4 separate regions of the Homo sapiens genome follow, and regions 2, 3 and 4 are each linked to region 1. The links are contacts of gene promoters, found by promoter capture Hi-C in human tissues and cell types (Jung and others, 2019). All regions are on one chromosome and are shown on one strand. The core of a region is centred on a gene start or on the middle of the fragment in contact, and the rest is flanking DNA. Distances in the headings are between cores, read along the strand shown. Region 1 holds the start of ADRA1A (adrenoceptor alpha 1A). Region 2 has its middle 46 kb from the start of MIR548H4. Region 3 has its middle 30 kb from the start of MIR548H4. Region 4 has its middle 24 kb from the start of MIR548H4.

Region 1 (5,605 bases), core at 1,580-4,079:
TCACTAGTCACTAAGAAAGTCCTGCCAATCAATGCATGGGTTTATGTCCATTGCTCAGCTCTTCTCCAATCAGACTCATTCCCCCAGCATCCCTGACACACCACTCTAAAATGCGGCTGCTGATGGTTCACCTTCCTCACTTTTGTCTACAAATCTCAATCCTGCTGATTCCACAAATCCTACATCAAGCAATATCATTTTATGAGTCTTTCCACAACCACCCCTTCAGGGGATTCTTCAATTTCTGTCACACCGGAAGTCTTCAGAGTATCACCCTCAGAGCCAGGCAAGAGGGACCCCGGCTAGGGTTTCAGGCTTTAGAGAGTCCAGCTCTGACTCCTTTTGGCCATAGGACTAATGTGATATGCCCACCTGGAGCCTGTGCCCTCCTTTCTAGACCATGCCCTGGGACTCAGAATCCCTTGCCCCAGATGGCCACACAATCACTTTCAGGTCCATTCTCTCTGGGCAGACAACATCACAAATGTGTGTACCCCAAGGCCTGAGGCCAAGAAGGCAGCTTTCTGGCTGTAGGGGCTGAGGTGTTCACACACATTTGCATGGCCCCTCAAGACAAAGAACAAGGGGGAAAGTGAGAAGAAAAGAAGCAGCCAGTGATCAGGGCCAGCTCTTGCAACTTAACCATGTTGGGTCATTCTGATTAAACCACTTAGCTCAAGTGTAGTGCTCAAGACACTTAGCACATTCTCCAGCTGAATTTACCAGTGTTCATGGACTACCTGGGTTAGAAATATATTTCACTATAAAGTAGCATACAAAATGAGCAGAAAGGGAGTTAATAAGATTAATAATAGAGTTAGTGAATATTATGAGCTGAGTTTTTGAGAAACGTAATTTCTTTCAACACTAATAACAACCTTGTGGGGGTTCATTGTCTCCCTTTAAAAATTAGGAAACCAAGGCTTTGCCATGGTCGCATAGGAGGGTCAGAATAGCATCTTTATGACCCCAGAGCATACTCCTCTCCACTCCACCTACCCATGTGTACAACTCAGACACTTTCTGGGATGTCCACGTCAACTATTCTTTAAAGAGTAACCAACAGATGGATAGTTTTCTGTTTGTGAATCAATGGTAGGTGACTGAAAAATTGGTTCTGAGAGGTCGTTTTGCAAGGATTGATGGTCACAGGCTGAGAAGCAGATTTGAAAGACCTACCTGCTAGCAGCATGAAGAGCTGCTCTTCCTTATCTTAGTATTAACTAGTTAATTATTGGAGGTGGGTGCAGGGGTGGATTATGTGTATTCTTAATTGTTGTAGAGTGGGGACTGGGAGTTACAAAGACTTTTGCAATTTTCGACCTTGCAGAGCTGAGCAATTTTCAGTTGCTTTGCTTGCTGATAGCACTGCTTCCCTTATCTACCATGGAACACATCTTAATGAAGAATTTGCATTCACAGCATCAGGTTAATGAATACAAAACAAAACAGTGTATATCCCTCTGATGGATGGGATTTCGGAAGCACAGACATTATACACATATTTGATGATAAAGTACTAGAAGTGCAGGGAATTGAGGTCAAGCTTCCTCCTAAGGGGACTGAATCCCAGAGAGAGCAGGTGACTTAGTAATGAGAAGTGGAGCTGTCTGTTCAACCAGGATGCTCCTCCTATGGCACGAAATTCAGTTTTAAAAATATATTAAATTCAAATCAAATGTGTTAGGTGTGAGTTCTATCCCTACAGGTATGAGGCAGAGGTGGAGGACTTTGTATACAATAGAGAAATAAATACATATATTAGGTCTTCCATGACATAGGATTTACTGACCCTCTCATGGGCATTCCTCTGAGGCATTTTGAGATTTATTGCTATAAAAGAGCCTCCCAAACATTATCTCACTTAGAAAAGGTAATCATATTAATATGATTTTGTTCACAGGAGAGAATTTAAGTGCCACTGCTTAAAGTTATCTCCTTGTTCCTAGGTTTAAGGAGACCTAGTAAATAAGAACATTCCACTTTGTCTGCATCAATAAAGATGAAAGATGACTTAGGAGGTGGGAATTGGAGTGGGAAACATTTTTCTATGTTCCCGATATTCTGAAACACATGTGACTTTATTCAATCACAAGGTAAACAGATTATGTAATTTACCAGAAAAAAAGTAATAAGACTGGTGGTGCTAGGTTTTCATACTCCAGCTATTAATGAATTAAAGAGAGTAACACTCCTGAAAGGATACCATTTTCTCAAGAAAACTGGAAAAGATTGTGTGGCATTTAAAAAATACCAAACTCTGTGGCCATAATGCTCTTAAAATTCATCTGTCTAAAGAAATTAGAAGTGAATCATATTAAATAAGGTTTAGATATGTCCACTTTATCTTCCTGAAAATATAATTTCATTACAATCAGATTTGTCATATTTTATCTGATTTTACTTGCTATTTAAAACACCTTATAATTTACTTGCATATTTAGAATTACAATATTCTTAATATACTTCTTGATCTTAACAAAACCTAGGCCAAATGTTAATCAAATCAAGCTGTTCAAAGTTACTTTATAGCACATTCCTATGAACACACCATACACACAGCAATATCTAGCAAGGGTGTCAATTTTTCGTTATTTTTAAAAGCTCATTTAAAGAAGTTATTTACTACAAATGACTCTACACACACACACGCGCGCGCGCGCGCGCACACACACACACACACACACACAAACCTTTTTAAAGAAACGCTAGAACCCAACCCCCTCTAGGCCAGAGGAAAACATTACAGCTGTATACGCACTTGTGCCTGTTGCCGTAGAGTAATACGGTAGCAGCAGGAGATTACGGTACTAGCTGGGCTACTGCCTGAGTTACGTCAGCGAGAGCTGCAAAGTTCCTTGCTATTCTTTTCTGGTGTCGGGGAGCTGAATATTAAAAGGGTGATTGTGGAGTTACCGGTTATCTGCATTTTTTTTTCTTTTCTTATTTTGACTCTTTTTAAAAAATGCAGGTAAAGTGACAGCGGTTCAGGAGCTTAAAGACATCAGTGGTGGAGGGGTGAGTCAGCGGGTGCAAAAGGACAAGGATTTGGTGCCTCGGAGACACGGTCCCCTCTCCGCCTCCAGAGAAGAGCAGGCAGGCAGCTCCCGGGACCGAAGCCGGGTCCACATCCCCCGCGCGCGAGCTGGTGGCTCAGCAGCGGCGCTTCAGGTGAGTGCGCCGGGGCCGGCGTCCCGCAGGGCCGAGTGGGTGAGGGCAGACCTCCCCCGCCGTCTGGTGAGACGGAACCCCCACTTTTCCCAGCGCCTCCCGCTTTTTCCACCAGGTTTTATACCGGCCCCTCTACCCCACCCCCGATTCCCTTACATCTTCTGCGAAGTTGCCTTCTACTGAACAAGTGTCTTTTTAACCCTGTGTTTATCACCCTCGAGGTAGGAGGAAAAGGGTTTCTGCAGTGGCACGTTTTTAATACCACCTGTGAGGTCTCCAACTTGCGATTTTAACAAGAGTCTTTGCCCGAGGTCCCACCTCAGGGCCCAACCCCAGAAGGCAAGGTGGGCACTTCCTCACGCCGCGCTGTCCTGCCGAGTCCCTGCGGTAGGTTCGCAGTTGTGGAAACCCAGGTTTCTTACGCAGATGGTGGCCCCCAGCCCAGAAAATCGAAGGCGGCCCCTGCCCGCTGGCATGCCGGCTTAATGTTTACGCCTGCAAAATCCGCAGTGACTGTCACTTGCAAAGCTCCCTCTGCAGAGGGACGTCCTCCCCACCCCGTCCCCCGCCAGTCCCGCTACGGCTGGCAGCTGGAGCCCCTCGGGTGGCCAACAGTGAGGCTTGGAAAGGCGTCGTGGACAGACCTGGGTCGCTTTCTGTCTTCGGGTCCCTCCCGGCTTCGCTCGGGACCTGGCTCTCAAGCCAGCTTGGCTGGTGGACAGACCGGTGCGCTCTGCACACCCGAGTGCGAATTCCACCGGCGTGAGAGTGAGCGTGCTCGTGGTCCTGGCCCTGAGGTCCCTGGGTCGCAGCTGTTCCCTCTCCCAGGCCGCCCCCTCCAGGTGACTGCGAGGCAACCTGTTCTAACGGAAACCGAGTACATCCTCCAGAATTCCCCGGCTAGGATCCGTGCGACACACTCGCCAGCCGCAGTCGCCCCTCCGGGGCTTCGAGGATTTTAATTTCGTGGTACCTGCGCTCGAAATCCAGACTTCGAGCGCTGGAGCCTGGGGTTTTGGGGATTTGTTTTTTTGTTTGTTTTTCGCTTCGGATCCTGAACTCGGGCAGAGGTGACTCAGTAGAGTGCGCTAGGCAGGTTCCCAGTGGTGGGGGCGCGAGATGAGCTCCGAAGTCGCCTCCACCGCTGCCGGGCGAAGCAGCTTCTGGACCGCAGAACCAACCCGGCTCCCAACTGGTGTCCCCCAACCCGTCAAGCTCAGCACAGCCTCTTTCCCTGGGGCGCCTAGCTCAAAGCCGCCTTTCTCTTTGCGCTCTTTCAGGTGGACGCGGTCAAACGATGCCCCGCAGCCTCCTGGGTCTCAGCACATATTCCACACCTACGTCCCCTGACCTGTGCTCCTAGAAGCTGGAGAGAGCAGGAGCCTTCGGTGGGGCAGCTCAAAATGTAGGTAACTGCGGGCCAGGAGCAGCGCCCAACCTGTAGCGCTGCGCTACCCAACCATCGGTCCCTGCCTTTGAGCGTCGACGGCTGATCTTTTGGTTTGAGGGAGAGACTGGCGCTGGAGTTTTGAATTCCGAATCATGTGCAGAATGCTGAATCTTCCCCCAGCCAGGACGAATAAGACAGCGCGGAAAAGCAGATTCTCGTAATTCTGGAATTGCATGTTGCAAGGAGTCTCCTGGATCTTCGCACCCAGCTTCGGGTAGGGAGGGAGTCCGGGTCCCGGGCTAGGCCAGCCCGGCAGGTGGAGAGGGTCCCCGGCAGCCCCGCGCGCCCCTGGCCATGTCTTTAATGCCCTGCCCCTTCATGTGGCCTTCTGAGGGTTCCCAGGGCTGGCCAGGGTTGTTTCCCACCCGCGCGCGCGCTCTCACCCCCAGCCAAACCCACCTGGCAGGGCTCCCTCCAGCCGAGACCTTTTGATTCCCGGCTCCCGCGCTCCCGCCTCCGCGCCAGCCCGGGAGGTGGCCCTGGACAGCCGGACCTCGCCCGGCCCCGGCTGGGACCATGGTGTTTCTCTCGGGAAATGCTTCCGACAGCTCCAACTGCACCCAACCGCCGGCACCGGTGAACATTTCCAAGGCCATTCTGCTCGGGGTGATCTTGGGGGGCCTCATTCTTTTCGGGGTGCTGGGTAACATCCTAGTGATCCTCTCCGTAGCCTGTCACCGACACCTGCACTCAGTCACGCACTACTACATCGTCAACCTGGCGGTGGCCGACCTCCTGCTCACCTCCACGGTGCTGCCCTTCTCCGCCATCTTCGAGGTCCTAGGCTACTGGGCCTTCGGCAGGGTCTTCTGCAACATCTGGGCGGCAGTGGATGTGCTGTGCTGCACCGCGTCCATCATGGGCCTCTGCATCATCTCCATCGACCGCTACATCGGCGTGAGCTACCCGCTGCGCTACCCAACCATCGTCACCCAGAGGAGGGGTCTCATGGCTCTGCTCTGCGTCTGGGCACTCTCCCTGGTC
Region 2 (5,605 bases), core at 802-3,301, 230 kb before region 1:
TGTGGTACATGGCCGGGCATGGTAGCTCATACCTGTAATCTCAGCACTTTGGGAGGCCAAGGCAGGTGGATCACTTGAGGTCAGGAGTTCAAGATCAGCCTGGCTAACATGGAGAAACCCCATCTCTACTAAAAATATGAAAATTAGCTGGATGTGGTGTCATGAGCCTGTAATCCCAGCTACTTGGGAGGCTGAGGCAGGATAATTTGAACCCAAGAGGCAGAGGCTGCAGTGAGCCGAGAAATCTTGCCACTGTGCTTCAGCCTGGGTGACAGAGTGAGACTCTGTCTCAAGGAAAAGAAAAAAAGAAAATGTGGTACATATACACCATGAAATACTATGTAGCTATACAAAGGAATGAGGTAATATCCTTTGCAGGGACATGGGTGCAGTTGGAAGCCATTATCCTCAGCAAACTAATGCAGGAACAGAAAACCAAATACCACATGTTCTCACTTATAAGGGGGAGCTGAATGATGAGAACACAGGGACACATGGGAGGAACAACAATACTGGGGCCTGTTGGAGAGGGGGCCTGGGGGGAGGGAGAGCCTCAGGAAGAACAGCTAATAGATGCTGGGCTTAATACCTAGGTGAGGAGATGATGATCTGTGCAGCAAAGCCTCATGGCACATGTTTACCTAGGTAACAAACCTGCACATCTTGCACATGTATCCCTGAACTTAAAATAAAATTTGAAGAAAATTAAATTAATTTAAATACATGAAGAGATACTCCACTGCATTCTGTCACATAGGATGCAGCATAATTGTTTATCCAGATTGCTATGATGAACAGTTAGATTGCTATGATTATCTGTTAAGATTCTCAGAGAACCTCTGAGAATTGTTGTGTATGTGTGTGTGTGTGTGTGTGTGTGGTGCATGTGTGTGTGTAATTATAGCTATGGTGTAAATATTTGTGTTCCCCAAATTCCTATGTAAAAACCTGATCACAGTGTAAAGGTATTAGGAGATACGGCCTTTGTGGGGTGATTAGGTCATGAGGACTGTACTCATGAATGGGATGAGTAGATTAGTGCCCTTATAAACCTTATAAAATAGCCCCAGAGAGCAGCCTTGCCCCTTCCACCATGTGAGGACACAGTAAGAAGGTGCCGTCTATGACAAAGCAGGCCCTCATCAAACACCAATCTACCAGTGCCTTGACCTTGGACTTTCCAGCCTCCAGAACAGTGAGAAATAAATGTTTGTTATTTATAAGTTACCCAGTCTACGATATTTAATTAGAAGAGCCCAGACAGACCAAGACAGATATATAAAAGGAGATTTGTTATAGGAATTGGATCACATGATTATGAAAGCCAAGAATTCCTACAATCTTCTGCCTGCAAGCTGGAGAACAAGAGAAGGCAGTGGTATAATTCTGCCCAAGTCCAAAGGCCTGGGAGTCAGAGAGTAATAGTGTAAATCTAGGTCTGAGTTCAAAAGCCTGAGAATCAGGAACATGGATGTCCAAGGGCAGGAGAACATGGATGTCACAGCTCAAGCACAGAGAATGAGCTAGCCCTTTCTCCACCTTCTTGTTCTATGCAGACCCTCAATAGGTTGAATGACGCACACCCTTACTGGGGAGAACCATCGGCTTTACTCAGTTCACCAATGCAAATCCTGATATTTTCTAGAAACATCCTGATGGACACACTCACAAATATGGTTTTACCAGGTACCTAGGTGTCCTGTTGAAGTGGTGTTGTTCGTCTGGAGTAATACTCAAGGTTTATTGTCCCGTGTCAAGGAAATCAAGGACATGGACACATAAGGAATAAGGTTGAGAATGGGGGTTTAACAGGTGAAAGAAAGAGAAAAGTTCTCTCCTGCAGAGAGATGGGGGTCCTGAATGGGTCCTCCGGTCCGATGTTAAGTGCAGGAGGTTTTACAGATGAGGTTGAGGAGGCAGTGTCTGATTTACATAGGGCATGAAAGGTTGGTGGGACCAGGTGTGCCATTTGAATAGTGCTCAAAGAACTGGTTAGGACTAGGTGTGCTGTTTGCATAGTGCACGAAGAAGCTGGCTGCCCCACCCTAATTTTTTTTTTTTGAGACAACTCTCACTCTGTCACCAGGCTGGAGTGCAGTGGCGTAATCTCTGCTCACTGCAACCCCCGCCTCCCAGGTTCAAGTGATTCCCTGCCTCAGCCTCCCAAGTAGCTGGGACTACAGGCGCGTGCCACCACACCCGTCTAATTTTTTTGTATTTTTAGTAGAGATGGGATTTCACTATGGCCAGGCTGGTCTCGAACTCCTGACCTCGTGATCTGCCTCCTCGACCTCCCAAAGTGCGGGGATTACAGTTGTGAGCCACGGTGCCTGGCCCACTCTAATCTTTTATTATGCAGATGGGTTCTCTGCCTGACTGGCACCATGTTGCCTGCCTCTTTACTGTACCTGTGGTGACAAAGAAAACGGATGATGGAGCTTCCATGTTGGATATGCCCAGCCCTCAGGTGGCCTTTTCCTATTGGTACAGCTGCTGGCATTCATCCACGCAAGTTTCCAGCTTGCATATCTATGTTTGCAGCTCGATTTTTCAGGCTGCTCTTTGTTAGAAAAAAGAAAAAATGATTTGGGGGCTGCTTTTTGTTAAAAGGGAAGCCTTGCCCAGGACTCCTTTACCCTCATTATCTCCCTAAGTAACTCCTTTCTAGCTCCTGTATCACTATAGGCCAGTCAAATTGATACATAAAATTAACCAATGCAGGTTGTTTCTAAAATTTTTTGGTTCTACAAAGAATTATGCAAAAAATAACATTGCACAAACATAATTTTACCTACGGGCATGAACATAATTTCACTAATTCAATGCATATTTATTTTTATATGTCAGGCACAATTTTAGGCACTTGTGTGTGGACACAGTAAAATAAATAAATAAAACCAATCCCTTGCCCTCGTGGAGCTGATACTCTAACTGATGAGACAGATAAACAACAAATAAAAAGTAAAATATCGTATGTCAAATAGCAGTAAGTTCTATTGAGAAAAATAAAGCAGGATGAGGGTGAGAGAATTTTGGTGGTAATGCCAGCTATTTTATGTAGGATTATAAAAAATATTCTTGAGAAGAAAAGTGAATAAGTCATGCAGATATATTGGTGAGTACTTTGCAGACAGAAACAACTGCAAAATCCCTAAGATGGACAGAAGAGAGCAAGGAAGGGAGTGACAGGAGGTGAAGTGAGGAGAGCAAGGTGATAAACCTCATGGAGCGTGGTAGGATTGTGCAAGCACTTTGACTTTTACTTTGAATGAGGAAAGAAGGTATTGGAAAGTTTCAAGCAGTATGATGATTTTCAAAGGTCATTCTATGAGTATATGTATATTGTGAATTCCTAGAAGTGAAATGGCTTGGTAAAGAGTATATGACCTTATAATTTTGAAATATATTGTCAAGTTGTTGTCCATATTAGTTGTAAAGCTTAAACTTCCACTGGAAATTTACAGCACATTTATCAACAAAATGTTGATTATTTTGTTGATAAACAAAAACTATTAACAACAAAAATAGAAAAAAACCTGACATAATGTTTTAAAAATACTAATAGGCAATAACAATCAAGTTTGAATTCTGTACCCAGCTGGAATGTCACTAAAGAATATCTGCAACATAAAAAATACTTTTAGACAAGGAAGTGCTAAGTATTTATTATTAACAAACAATCACTTTAAAAAGTTCCAAAATGTGCTTTAGAAAGAAGATTAAATCTAGGAGAAGAGAATTAAGGGATGCTGAACAAAGAAATAGTAAACACGTGAGTAAATTAAAAGAAGTATTTACACTAAGACAGTAATAATGGTGATAATGAGGATAGTAGTGATAATAAATATTTTGGAATTATAAAACCAAGTATTCATGAAATATTTTATAACAGTGTTCTGAAGAATGGTGAGGATAAATGCAAAGGGGGGAATTGAAATGGAAGTATTCTAAAATCCTTATGCTCACCGGGAAGGTAAAGATATAGACTAAAATTAAATGTTGAAAAGTTAAGTACATGGGAAAAATTAGATAACCAGTTAAAGAATAGAAATAGAACATCTAACATTCAAATCTGATGAAAAAAATGTGGATCAACCAAATAGAAGGAAAAAAAGAGAAAGCTGTAGCTTAGTGAATCATGGCTAATGGAAAGCCAAAGTAAGGTGATAGAAATACATCTAAATACAGAAAAAAACCCACAAGTACATCAGCTTTTTGAAGTATTGGCTTTTGATCATTCTGTAGTACTTAGCTTTCATCTACGCTGAGGGACCACTCTATGACTATAAGATTGCTGGTGTCTAATAATTCCATCTCAGATAACATGCACAGTACCACAGTTAGCAAGTTAATCATGAACTAGGTACACCTCTCAGGATCTTTTTAGTTCTTTATCTTCTTTAATTCCTGCAACACCCTTCATAATAGGATATTAGATGAGAATGCTGTGTCTCAGACAGTTTGGCTTATGCGATTTAAATTCAGAATAGCTCACCCTTAGTTCTCGCCAATATCCACAGCTGCCTTTCCTCTTTGACTCACTTCTCTAATATTTTTTATTTTAGTCAGCATTATTGTGCCAAGCTCTTTTTAGTCTGGTTCAGGTTTTTCACTGGAAAAAGCCTAAAAATTTAGGAGGCTAGGAAGGGTGATAATACTGAGCAGTTTTAAAAGGAAAGGTGATATCATTTGGCTCTGTGTCCCCACCCAAATCTCACCTTGAATTGTAATAATCCCCAAGTGTGAAGGGCAGGGCCAGGTGGAAATAATTGAATCATGGGCATGGACTCCCACATACTGTTCTTGTGATAGTGAGTGAGTTCTCACAAGATTTGATGGTTTTACAAGCTTCTGGCACTTTTCCTTTTGGCACTTCTTCTCTTGCCTGCTGCCACGTATAAGCCATGCCTTCCACCTTCCGCCATGATTGTGAGGCCTCCCCAGCCATGTGGAACTGTAAGTCCATTAAACCTCTCTGTCTCTCTCTTTTTTTTTTTAAATAAATTACCCAGCCTTGGGTATGTCTTTATTAGCAGCATGAGAACACACTAATACAAAAGGACTATCACAAATACAGAATAAGAATGACATTAGAATGATCTCATAACACTCTACTATTCTCACCTTTGCCTCTGATATCAGATGTTTGAGTAACCACTTCTTTGGAGAGAAACAGAATATATGGCCATATTTTATCTCCAGTATCTGAGTATTAAATTTTTTTATAGCTGTCAGTTTTCTACCCATTTCCAAACTCTCATCCCTGTTCTTTTGAGACCACCAAGACAGCAAATTCATTTGGCACAGAATTTCTAAGGATTCCAAGGGAGAGTGGAATCACTCATTGGCTCTATATCATTTGAGAGAGGCAACAACTAATTGTCCTTGGTCCATTCTTAATCAGGCACTTAAAGCATGAACCCAAAATATGATTTACAGCTAGGGTGAGCATATGTCCTGATTCATTCAGGAGAATCCTAGTTTGGATGAATTTTGTAGTAGTATGCTAATGGAGACTTGCCTTAATGGACTTAAATTAGTTTAAAATACAAGACCTTTCCTCCATTTCACAGACAAATAACTCTCAATTCCAAGTCTGAATCCC
Region 3 (5,605 bases), core at 2,193-4,692, 210 kb before region 1:
TCCCACAGATCTTGCCAAAGACAGATATATGGGTTGCAGTTTTGATATATACTGTGGCATTTGGGAATGTACTTATGTCTAAAGGGTCCCAGAATGTTAATTATTTCTTTTTAGTTAGAGTGAATTATTACACATATTTAAATGAAAAGTTGAAGACAATAGCAGTGGAAATAAACAGTAAAGAACCACCCCTTTTCCCTTCCATATACACATTGCTTCAACTACCACCATCACCATCGCAACCACGGATAACTGGCATAACTGGCACCATCATGGACCCAACACCAGGAAGTCTATTTACAGACATGATCTTGTTTAACTATTAGAGAAAAACCTACAAAGAAAATATTATTATCATTTCCATTCTACAGATGGAAAAGTAGAATTTTCAAAGGGTTGTAAACTGACCCATAGTTGGTAAATTGCAGAGTCTGTCTTAACAAGCTTTGTGATTTCAAAGACCTTGCTCTCTGACATAATACAACTTTCTTTTAATGAGAAGTGGCTATGAGAAGTGGGATGTTCCACTTTCCCTCCAATACGTATTTCCCATGCTTCGGTTTGACCTCTCATCGGGATCATGCATTTCCAGCTTTCAACTAATGGTTTATTCTTACATGTATCATCTGGCCTTTCTTAAAACATAAACCCATCCACAAAACAAATGCCACTAAACAAATACCAGATCAAGATAGTATCTTTAAGTTTTGCCCTTAAAAAATTCCTTCCAAAAGAATGATAAATTACACTGCTTAGTGTAATGCTAACTTCCTCCCCTTCAGTTATTTGCTTATGTGATCCACTCTTCTCTGTTCCTGTCCTTTCTGTAAACCCTGATGAGGTTGACTTGAAACCTGGCAATTTGGAGGCTTTTTCACTTCTTCCTTAGGAACAGCTAGCAGTGATTTATTTCCTACCTGTGAGCTGTATAGACCACACCTCTCCCTTGCAGCCTTAGGAGCAAGGAGTCAATCTTGACTTAGGCCCAGACACGTTTTCCTAATTTGCTGATGAACTCAGTCAGTTTTCTGCTGGCCTCTGGCTCTTTCCTGCCAGCATTATCTGCATTGGGGTTTGCCAGATGCTTCCATTGGGCCTTGTTTATCCAGGTTAAATTTTTAATGCTGCTGCACCTCTGCTCTTCCCACCAGACTATGATTCCATGGCAGGGACAAATTTGCATTCACTTTTGTAGTTCTGGTTCCTGGGGTGGGCCAGGCATGATGGGTAGGACTGTGGTATAAAACTGGAAAGAAGGAAGGAAGGAGGGAAGGAAGTAAGGAAGGAAGGGAGGGAGGGAGGGAGGGAGGGAGGGGAAAAGAGAGAAAGGAGGGGAGGAAGAAAGGAGAAAGAAGGAAAGAAGGAAGATGGAGAAGGAGGAAGAAAGGAAGACATGGAGTTATTATTATTGTCATTGAGTTTCTCTTTGTATGATTTACTTTCCGGTGAAGTTACTTGAAGCAGAGAGAGGATGGAGAAGAAGAGGCTGATATTCTCCACCTGACCTCTCGGACTTCTCCAAAAGATGGGATTTAATAGGAAGTTAAGAGCACCAATTCAGAAATGAGATTGTTGGGGTTCAGAATCGCAGGTCTGCAACTCACTACTTGGATGACTATGGGCAAGTTTCTTAACCTCTCTGTTCCTCATTTCCCTCCTCTGTAAACATGGAGAAAATGAAAGTATCTGTTCCATAGGAGTTTAGTGAGGAATATGTGAGTAAACATATAAATGACTGGGAGAAGTGCCAACACATAGAAAGAATGAGTTTACAATTGTTGTTATGAGAAAGCATTTAGCTGTAAAAATTTAGGGACTTATCTCCAGGAAAAATATTCATTCATTTGTTCTCTAAACATTCATTAGACACCTAATTTCTCCCATGCATTGTGCTAGGTGTTAGGGAAGAGGCCTAATTAAGATACGGATGCTGTAAAGTTTGTATCATTAATTAGGCATCAAATCATTTTTACAAAGGAAAAGAGCAGAGTGTTCGGAGGGTGAAGAAGGTGGAGGTGGGGCAGGGGATGTTGCCCACTCTGAGGGCTGGGGAGAGAAGTCTACTTTGGGGTCGGCAAGCGAGCAGAGCAGAGCTGGTGACACTCCTGGCTTCAAAGTCCACATATGCTGCCTGTCTCCTCCTGGCCAACTCTTTCATTTCTGCTCCGGAGCCACTGGGGGCACTTCAAAGATCAGCAGCTCTGAGCATGGGGAGGTGGTGCTGTTGGACATCATTACCAGACTTTCCAAATGCCTGTTCCAAACGGTACAGTGCGGAGGTTCTCCAAGGCAGCGCTGTCGGTAGGAGATATCAGCAGGCATGCAACAGGGCTAAGGCGGGCACCAGTGGAGCTGAACCAGTCATATGGGAACACTAGCGGGGCGTCTCCCTGAAGATGCCAGGGGGTGAAGCCCTGCCTTGGTTGGGGAAGGCTTGGAGCTGATTCCATTTGGACATTCATGTTGCATGTCCTTACTTGCATGCACTTGAAGCCTGCTGATGTCCGGGGCCGTTTGGGTTACACAAATAAATAAGCATTGTGCAAGTTTTTCTGTTGACTGTGGCCGTTTTCATAAAAGCTTCAATTTCTTCCATCTATGCCTAAAATCTATAGAGAGTTAAAGCATAAACCAGTCCTTGGACCCTTTCCCATTTGTTTTTTCCTCGAAGTGTGTAACATCTGATAATTGCCTTTTTTCCCCTCAGTATATTATTAAGAATTGATTACTGTGTTTTTCATTTTTAGCATGTATTTTGTGTTTCTGGCCTAAAATTGTTATGATACTATATATTTCTGGAGAAGGATTCATTTTTAAATCTAGCCTCTGGAAATATGAGACCTTTTTGGTATTTTGGGGTCTTTATATGAACAAGATGTCAAATTCTTGATTTCATTATATCATTGAAGGCCTGGGAATGGCTGGCTTTGTGAGCCATAATAAAGATCTGGTTTTCTTTAAAAAGGAAAGACAGAAGAACCAGAAATTATTCTTATGCAGTTTTACATGAGACTTCTGATTTCTTCCATATTTGAAATTTACCAGATATTCTCAGCAAAAATGTGCTCTATTTACGAGAACGAGGCTGATGAACTTGGAGAGATAATATTACCTTATTTATAGAAGTCAGCTCTGATTGTATCAATTTTACTGATGTGTGTGTTTATATATATATTATACTTAATAATGTTTCATATAATATATTATTGCAGGAAGCAAATTTTCTAATTTTATTTACTATGTATAAAGACTATTGAATACTATAGTGTATAATAAAATATTATAGTATATAATATAGTCAACATTTTTACAATATATATTTACTACATTATTCACTGTGTATAGTATATATAAATTGGCTATATATGTTATTTATTACATACAAGAATATTATAATATTTAACACATGTATAATACTTATTACATATTAAATAAAATGGGGGGGGGGTGTTATTCCTGGAAAAGAAAATTTAAACCACTACCCAGATACTGTGATTAATTAGTGATTTTCCTCTTGCCTTTAATCTTGAACAGTTACTATGTGTGTTCATGTGAAAATGGCCAAGTCATGGACTATTAATATAGGCAAATAATATGACTTGTGGAAAAGGTGCATTTAAGGAATACTGTTTCTGGAGCGATACAAGCTGATGCAAGCAGAGTTAACGTTCAGGGTTGTCCTCAAATACCAGGTGACATGACCTGATCATGCCCTCCCACCTTCTCATCCGGGATGGCCACTGGCTGGTAACCTGCTCTACCCATGGGCTCTTCTGCCTCTCGCTAGCTGCTCCTGATGGGAGGATCCCCTGCCCCCGAGCAGCCCCACTATGAAGCCAACATTTTAGAAAGATCAGAAACGACCTCGTATGACAACGGCTCAGATGCAGCACAATCTTTCAAGGTGGATGGCAGATGTGTCTTCTACATAAACATTCCCATTCCCTCTAACGAGGTGTGTCTTCCTTGTGTCCTAGCTCTATGTCAGGTTGCTTTTATTTTTCTCATGGCACTTAGGATTGGTGAGCTTTTGAAGAGTAGAAAATTAATTATCTTTGAAAAGTAATTCCTCACCACCTACCCCCGCAATGCCCTGCCAGGTAATACAGAAGTGGTTTTGAATGAATTAATGGAACAAAGTGTCAAGTAGGATCTGTGGGGTTTTTTTGTTTTTTGTTTTGTTTGGTTTCTTAATCATGCATTACCTGAGCACCACTTTGGTGGATAAAAGTTCTCTTCTGCGTCTTTGTCAAGGGGACAAGCCACAATACTGGGAACTGATCTTGTAATTTGATGCTGGTTTTTCTCTCTGAAGGATACTATTATCATTGATGTTTATTCTTCTTCCTCCTCCTTCTCCCCATCCTTGTTCTTCCTTCTCTCTCTCTCTCTCTGTCTGTCTCCTCTCTCTTTCTCTCTTCCTTCTTCTCTCCCTCCCTCTCGGGTTGCCAGATAAAATTCAGGACCCTCAATTACATTTTAATTTCAGATAAACAACGAATATTTTCTTACTATAAGCATGTACCAAATATTGCATAGGACATACATATACTAAAAATATTCATTGTTTAATGAAAATTAAATTTAACTGCATATTCTTTATTTTTACTTGCTAAATCTGGCAATCCTACCTCTTTGAACTTTTTTCGGTACCTTAAAGAATAGAAAAAACGACTCTATGGAAACCTTCCTGCCTTTGGCCCTATTATCAAAGCCCCAAATCTACCATATTCTTAAAAGTTCCTGAGAAAAGAAGGCACACATTGTAAATAACACTGGGCAATGAAATCAGAGGTCTTCTAGTTCTAACATCAGGAACATAACACACACACCACGCTCTTTTTTTTTTTCTTTGCATTTTAAAAGGGAGAATTACACAGCTGAAAGAGAAGCAAGGTAGCATTAACTTTCCTAAGAAGGACTGTGTGGCACCCAGTTTAGAAAAATAGTCAGTAAGAGAAATTCAATAGGGAGGCATTTTTCTTGCAGTTGATAATTTTTCTCAGGCACCCTGTGGATGGCACCCAGGAGAATTTGGAAGATTTAGAGTTACTATACAAGGGCCATCTCGAGGATGGTATTTGACCTTTCTTCTTTTGTTATCATTGCAAGGACAGCTTTATCTTTTAAAAATATTTTTACTTTTTTTAATTTTCAGAGACAGGGTCTTGCTCTGTCACCCAGGCTGGAGTGCAGTGATCATAGCTCACTGTAACCTTGAATTCCTTGGCTCAAGTGATTCTCCCACCTCAGCCTCCCAAGTAGCTGGGACTATAGGTGCACACCATCACACCCAACTTAAATTCTCCTTTGTAGATGCAGGTTCTCGCTTTGTTGCCCAGGCTGGTCTCAAACCCCCTTCGCCTCAAGAGATCCTCTGGTCTCCACCTCCCAAAGTGCTGGAATTACAAGCATGAGCCACCACACTAGCCAGCCTTATCTTAATATGAGAAAAACTGAAACTATAACAGTGCCATGTTTTCATATTTGTCATGTTGATTTTTAAAAGGTGTGCATTTCTAGAATGCTGTCTCACTTTGGGCAGATAGAGGACAGCATTTAAGCTTTTCATCCAGCAAAGAGAACAGAAAGGAGGCTTCCCTGG
Region 4 (5,605 bases), core at 989-3,488, 160 kb before region 1:
GGAAAAAGTAAATTTGAACCTAGAATATTTTCATCCAGTTGAGCTTTTGTTTAAGTGCAATAAAAACATTCTCAAGTATACAATTGCCTCAGAAGGATGAACACACGGAATCTCTTTGAAATCACTCTTGGATGAAATATTCCAGCAAAAAAGAACGCATCCAGGAGGCACAAAGAAATCTACTGTATACAGGAAGTAAAGAAGAGTAAATAACCGAAGACTATTGGTGGTTTTCTAAATGAGTGTTGGCATACCAGATGAAGGCCAAGGTAGAATAATTTGGATAAGAATTGAAAATTACTAGAATGGCAAGAATCAGAAATGTTGCATTTCTATACTTTCAAAATACTTTTGTATTTTTGTCATGTATTTTCGTCAGGTTCATGATTCCCAAAACTTGAGTGGATTACATTGACTTGAAAGTGAGAATTCAATGGACAGGTGGATGCAAAAAAAGGGAAGAACAATGTGGGCTGGTGGCTGTGATTTAGTTTTAAAATGTGTACCACTTTGATAATTTGTAGATTTGTAAATCTAGAGAATAACTTTACACTTTCGCTGAAAACCATCACGTCAGGGGCCACAGTAGCTGGAATTGACATCGGCTATAGATGCCTGACTTACTTTCTCCCTTGCCTAAATTCTGAGCATAGTAAGTGCTGAAGAAACCTCCCAGTATTTCATCTTAACCCATTAGTATAAAGTAAAGGTTTGCATTGTAGAATTATCAATTTCCTCTGTGAGGATCATTCCTTAGAACATTGCAAGCTATCATCACACCTGATGATCAGATTTAATCACGTTTCAAACACAAGACATCAGTCCTAAGGTGAAAATGTCACACAGGCAGGGTCATCATAATATGGCTTCATCCTTCAGTTCTAAATTTTACGAGATAGGGGTGCCATTGGATATTTTTCTTCAAGCCAGAAAAATAATACATTTGTGCTATGTATTTATAATAAGCTTTCTGATGCCACAGAGAAATGCAACATGTAGTTTTAGTCCACTACACTGAAACAGAATATTTACATTGTCTATATAAGAGTTATTTTTTTAACTTCCAAAGTATTTTGAGGTTCAAGCCCATACTTACATTCTATTAACTATCATTTTAGACTATAGTTTATTACCTAAAAAAGAAACCCATACTTCATACGGAATACCTAGAAAATACAAGACTGGAAAAAAGCAAAAGTTAATGCTAACCATTCAACATTTTTCTTGATTCCCTTGAATTTTTTCATTAGTGCTGTCATTGAAAGCAATATTAAGTAGTGTAAGACTAGAGCTAAGATTCAGATTCTCTTCAGCAAATTTCTAGCCCAACACCTACTTCTGAGATCTTGGATGTGCCATCTGACTTCTCTAAGTCTTGGAGAGTTTATCTTTCAGAGGGTAATGATTATAATGTTACCTGCCTCATTAAATTGATGTGTGGATGAAGTGAGAAGAGGCAGTGAAGCATTTAACTCCATGTCTGGTGCTTAGAAATGTTCAGTTAATGCTTATTAACATTAATACAATTATTACTTAAACATAGATTCTTGATAAAAGTAAGAATTCCTGGCGATTGTGCCTCATAGCCCAGATTTCTCTTGAATCTTCTCACTAAACCTAAGTCAGTAACTATGGCCAAGTTTGTGTCAAAGACACTGTTGACATTAAAATATTATTTTTGTTTTCTGTTTCAAAGTAGAAATTTCGATATATCAACTTTGAAGACTACCAGAGAAGCAGAGTTACCTGAAACTGCATTTTAGGTCATTTAAATAGAATCTTAAAAAATTGAGATGTGGCCAGGCGCGGTGGCTCACGCCTGTAATCCCAGAACTTTGGGAGGCCGAGACAGGAGGATCACAAGGTCAGGAGTTTGAACCTAGCCTGACCAACATGGTGAAACCCCGTCTTTACTAAAAATACAAAAAAATTAGTTGGGTATGGTGGTGCGTGCCTGTGATCCCAGATACTCGGGAGGCTGAGGCAGGAGAATCACTTGAACCCGGCAGGTAGAGGTTGCAGTGAGCCGAGATTGTGCCACTGCACTCCAGCCTGGGTGACAGAGCAAGACTGTCTCAAAAAAAAAAAAAAAAATTGAGATGTGATTAACACACAATGAAAAGTACAGGTTTTAGATGTTCAGTTATTCAAAGAGTATTGACAATTGTGTATATCCAAGTAACAAGATATAGAACACTTCCACCCCCATAAAAAGTTCCCTGGTGTTTCTTTCAGTCGAATCCCTACACTGTGGAGCATTCATTGTGCAGATGTCAACCACTGCCTATGTTCCATCTACATGGCTTAATTTTGTCTGTATTTGGATTTCATATACATGGCTTTAGACAGTATATACTCTTCTGTGTGTCTGGCGTCTTTTGCTTAGCATAATGTTTTTGAGATTCATCAAATATCAAAATTAGATGTATCATCCATGATACTTTCAATTATTCAATGTTTAGCAAGCGGAGGGAGGAGGGTCAAAAAGGCACACGGCATAGATTGGAAAGACCTGAGTTGAAATTCTGACTCCTTTTAGTTGTGCAATCTTGAACAAATGATGCAATCTCAGTACTGGCTCTTTGGACAAATCGCTCTAAACCTCAAGTTCCTCCACTTAAAATGACTAAAAATACCACTTCATAAGGTTGTTGTCAAAATTAAGATAAAACAAGTGAGAGCAAGGCGCTAGACACATAACAGTTGTTCTGAAAAAGCTTTGTTCAATCTGAATACAGCAAGCCAAAGATATTGACTAATCACATCTCCTTGACCAACCACAGCAGAGATGAAAAGATGCAGAAACTGGTTTTCTCCATCAAACATGATGACATAAACCTTATTTTCTCCCCTGGAATATGGTTTCAAGGTTTTAAAGAGATTATGTTTAAGAATATATAATCTCAGAATTGAGACAAACAAACAAGCAATTAAACAGATAAAGCCAGAGGCAAGGCTCAGGCTGGGATTCCTGTGTACTTCGTTGTGGGAATCCTGACCATTTCCATTTGTCTTTCCTCAGGAAGGATGGAATTAATTTTAGAGGTTTAAAGATTAATTAATTCCTGCTACGTTAAAATCTCATGGTGTTCTTCGGCAAGATGTTATAACTCAAGCAAAAATCTTTTGCAAGAGAGTGAAGCAGAACCAGTGTATCTAGTGGTGTTAAAACAAAACGATAGACAAGGAAACATCATTTTTCTGCCTGCTTCAGTCAACTCACAGAAATTCTTCTTGTACACATCAATTATTTTACAGTGCGGGGAATTAAAGAATTTAACAATCATTTCCCATTATTTGTGCTGCTCTTTAAGAAATACGGGGCCTATCCTGGTCAATACAAGAAGATCCTATCTCCACAAAAAATTTAAAAATTAGCTAAGCGTGTGGGTGCATGCCTGTAGTCCCGGCTACTCGGAAGGCTGAAGTAGGGGTATCATTTGAGCCCAGGAGGCAAAGGTTGTGCGAGCCGAGGTCATGCCACTGCACTCCAGCCTGGGTGAGAGAGTGAGACCCTGTCTCAAAAAAAAAAAAAAAAAAAAGGTGGGGTGGTGGTTTTGGGCCACTGTAAAAGCTACTTTGGGAATGAAAGTGGTTTTTGGAAACATTGAACATTTAGACACCTTGGTGTACATGGAGATTTTGTTATCATCTGGTTTGATGTGACAGCTGCAGGTACCATTTATCTGAGACATTTCTCCATTGATAATGCTTGGACTAGGCAGCTTTTAGTGAAAAATAAAATTACTAAAGCAATCATCTTTCTTCTTGTGGTGAATTTTACATGAATAGAAACAGGTAATACAAGTCAGCTGCTTTCTTAATACTTCTAAATGGTGTTGACCTTATAGAAATCTAATTATAATTTACATTTATAAACCATAATGAACCTATTAGGAGGCTGTAGCATAGATAAAGACATGAAAGTATTTTCTCTCAAATAAGATGGGCAAAACTAAAGAAAATAAATATGCCCATGATTAAAATAATACTTTCATCTTTGTCATTTTTTAGATTTCATATATATTTTTCATTTATTTATAAAATAATTCTGTAATATAGGTAGAGTTTAAATTATGGTCTACACTATATGGAGAAACTTGGACTAAGACTTTTGGAATGACTAATATTAGAAGAAATGATTCTTTTTCCCAGATGTTACCACTATCTCAAATTTGTATGGTCCCTCATTGTTTATGAGGCACTTAGACAGATGTTACCTGCTAAGGCAGAAACTCAAACCAGTTTCATCCAAAAATAAGGGAATTCATTGATTCCCATAACTAGAAAAACCAGATGACAGAGTCCAAACTGAATCCGACTCCATGTAGCCTAGGTATTTTGCTTCTTTTACTTGGCTTAGCACCCCTGTTCTGGGTTCTCATTTCTTGCCTCTGCAGATGGGCTTCCTCCGTATGGCCAGGAAGGCATCACTTCCTTCCGGCACTCAGATGGCAGATGCCAGGGGCAATCTTACTCAGTTGCTCCAGCCGAAAACTCCCGAGGCCTTGTTTGGGTCACATGACAATTCTGGAGCCATTTCCTGAGACTTCAGGTGTAGGAAGTGCCAACTGGCTCATGTAGGCCCAACTGTCTCAATGTGCTAGTGGGGGACAGTGCACACGATTGGCCACATGTTTTGGGAGAGGATAATGACCTCAAGAAAATATTAAGGGTTGGCCGGGCACAGTGGCACACACCTGTAATCCCAGCACTTTGGGAGGCCAAGGCAGGTGGATCACTTGAGGTCATGAGTTTGAGACCAGCCTGGCCAACATGGCGAAACCCTGTCTCTACTAAAAATGCAAAAATTAGTCAGCTGTGGTGGTGCATGCCTGTAGTCCCAGCTACTCTGGAGGCTGAGGCAGGAGAATCGCTTGGACCTGGGAAGCAGAGGTTGCAGTGAGCCGAGTTCATGCCACTGCACTCCAGCTGGAGCAACAGACTGAGTAAAACTCTGTCTCAAAAAAAAAAAAAAAAAAAAAAGAAAGAAAAGAAAAGAAAATATTAAGGGTTATGTTGGCCAATGATAAAGGTTTCCTATATACTAGCATAGAAATAAAGACAGCCTGCTCAATGGGCCAGATTAGAACATCTAGAAATAGATGCATGTATATATAAAGATTTATTATAAGATTTTTCTGGAAATTCAGGTAAGTGGGAGAAAGGATGAACTATTTAATAGTAAATGTGAAAACTGTGTTGATGATGCAAAAACCTTAACCTGTGGGATCCAACACTATCTCCACATAGATAGTGTCACAATTGAGTTACATTTTAGGACATCGAGCTCCAGCGAGTCTGCTGGAGAATTAATTGTTCCATATGTGGGGAAACCCCCACACATCTAGTCACAGAGCAGTCTTGTATTGAATGTTGAGAGTATAGACGGAAAAAAATGAGCCAGTTGGTTTTTGTTTTTGCTTTGCCCCATCTCATATACCAACCTTCTTCATTTCCAAGCCTGAAATTTTTGAACCTCAGTTTCTTTTTGTCCAAAATGGCACTCAATATATAGTATGAGAAAATTAATGCCACCTTCAAACGTTAACTGTTGGCATTTCTTCTGTGTGGTTGAAAAGTGAATTGTTTTCATTTGTTTCTT

Evidence for each region. Contacts are between HindIII fragments. The study calls those that stand out against the background at their distance.
Region 2: a contact is called between a fragment that was not itself captured here and the fragment with the promoter of ADRA1A in region 1, in 1 of the 25 tissues and cell types used here (stomach).
Region 3: a contact is called between a fragment that was not itself captured here and the fragment with the promoter of ADRA1A in region 1, in 5 of the 25 tissues and cell types used here (dorsolateral prefrontal cortex, heart left ventricle, hippocampus and 2 more).
Region 4: a fragment that was not itself captured here is called in contact with the fragment with the promoter of ADRA1A in region 1 in 2 of the 25 tissues and cell types used here (dorsolateral prefrontal cortex and hippocampus).

What each region holds. Positions count from the first base shown.
Region 1 is chr8:26,864,502-26,870,106 of GRCh38, reverse strand. ADRA1A (adrenoceptor alpha 1A) reads left to right here and starts at 2,829. Exons shown (of 3, transcript NM_000680.4): 1 at 2,829-3,171; 2 at 4,452-5,605. The coding sequence starts at 5,138. RefSeq lists an enhancer at 3,608-4,559. The HindIII fragment of the contact is 8,811 bases long and covers 1-5,605 here.
Region 2 is chr8:27,092,100-27,097,704 of GRCh38, reverse strand. No RefSeq gene overlaps it. Among named protein-coding and RNA genes, the nearest start is that of MIR548H4, 46 kb to the right of the region's middle. The HindIII fragment of the contact is 7,720 bases long and covers 1-5,605 here.
Region 3 is chr8:27,075,730-27,081,334 of GRCh38, reverse strand. No RefSeq gene overlaps it. Among named protein-coding and RNA genes, the nearest start is that of MIR548H4, 30 kb to the right of the region's middle. The HindIII fragment of the contact is 6,468 bases long and covers 209-5,605 here.
Region 4 is chr8:27,022,578-27,028,182 of GRCh38, reverse strand. No RefSeq gene overlaps it. Among named protein-coding and RNA genes, the nearest start is that of MIR548H4, 24 kb to the left of the region's middle. The HindIII fragment of the contact is 4,096 bases long and covers 191-4,286 here.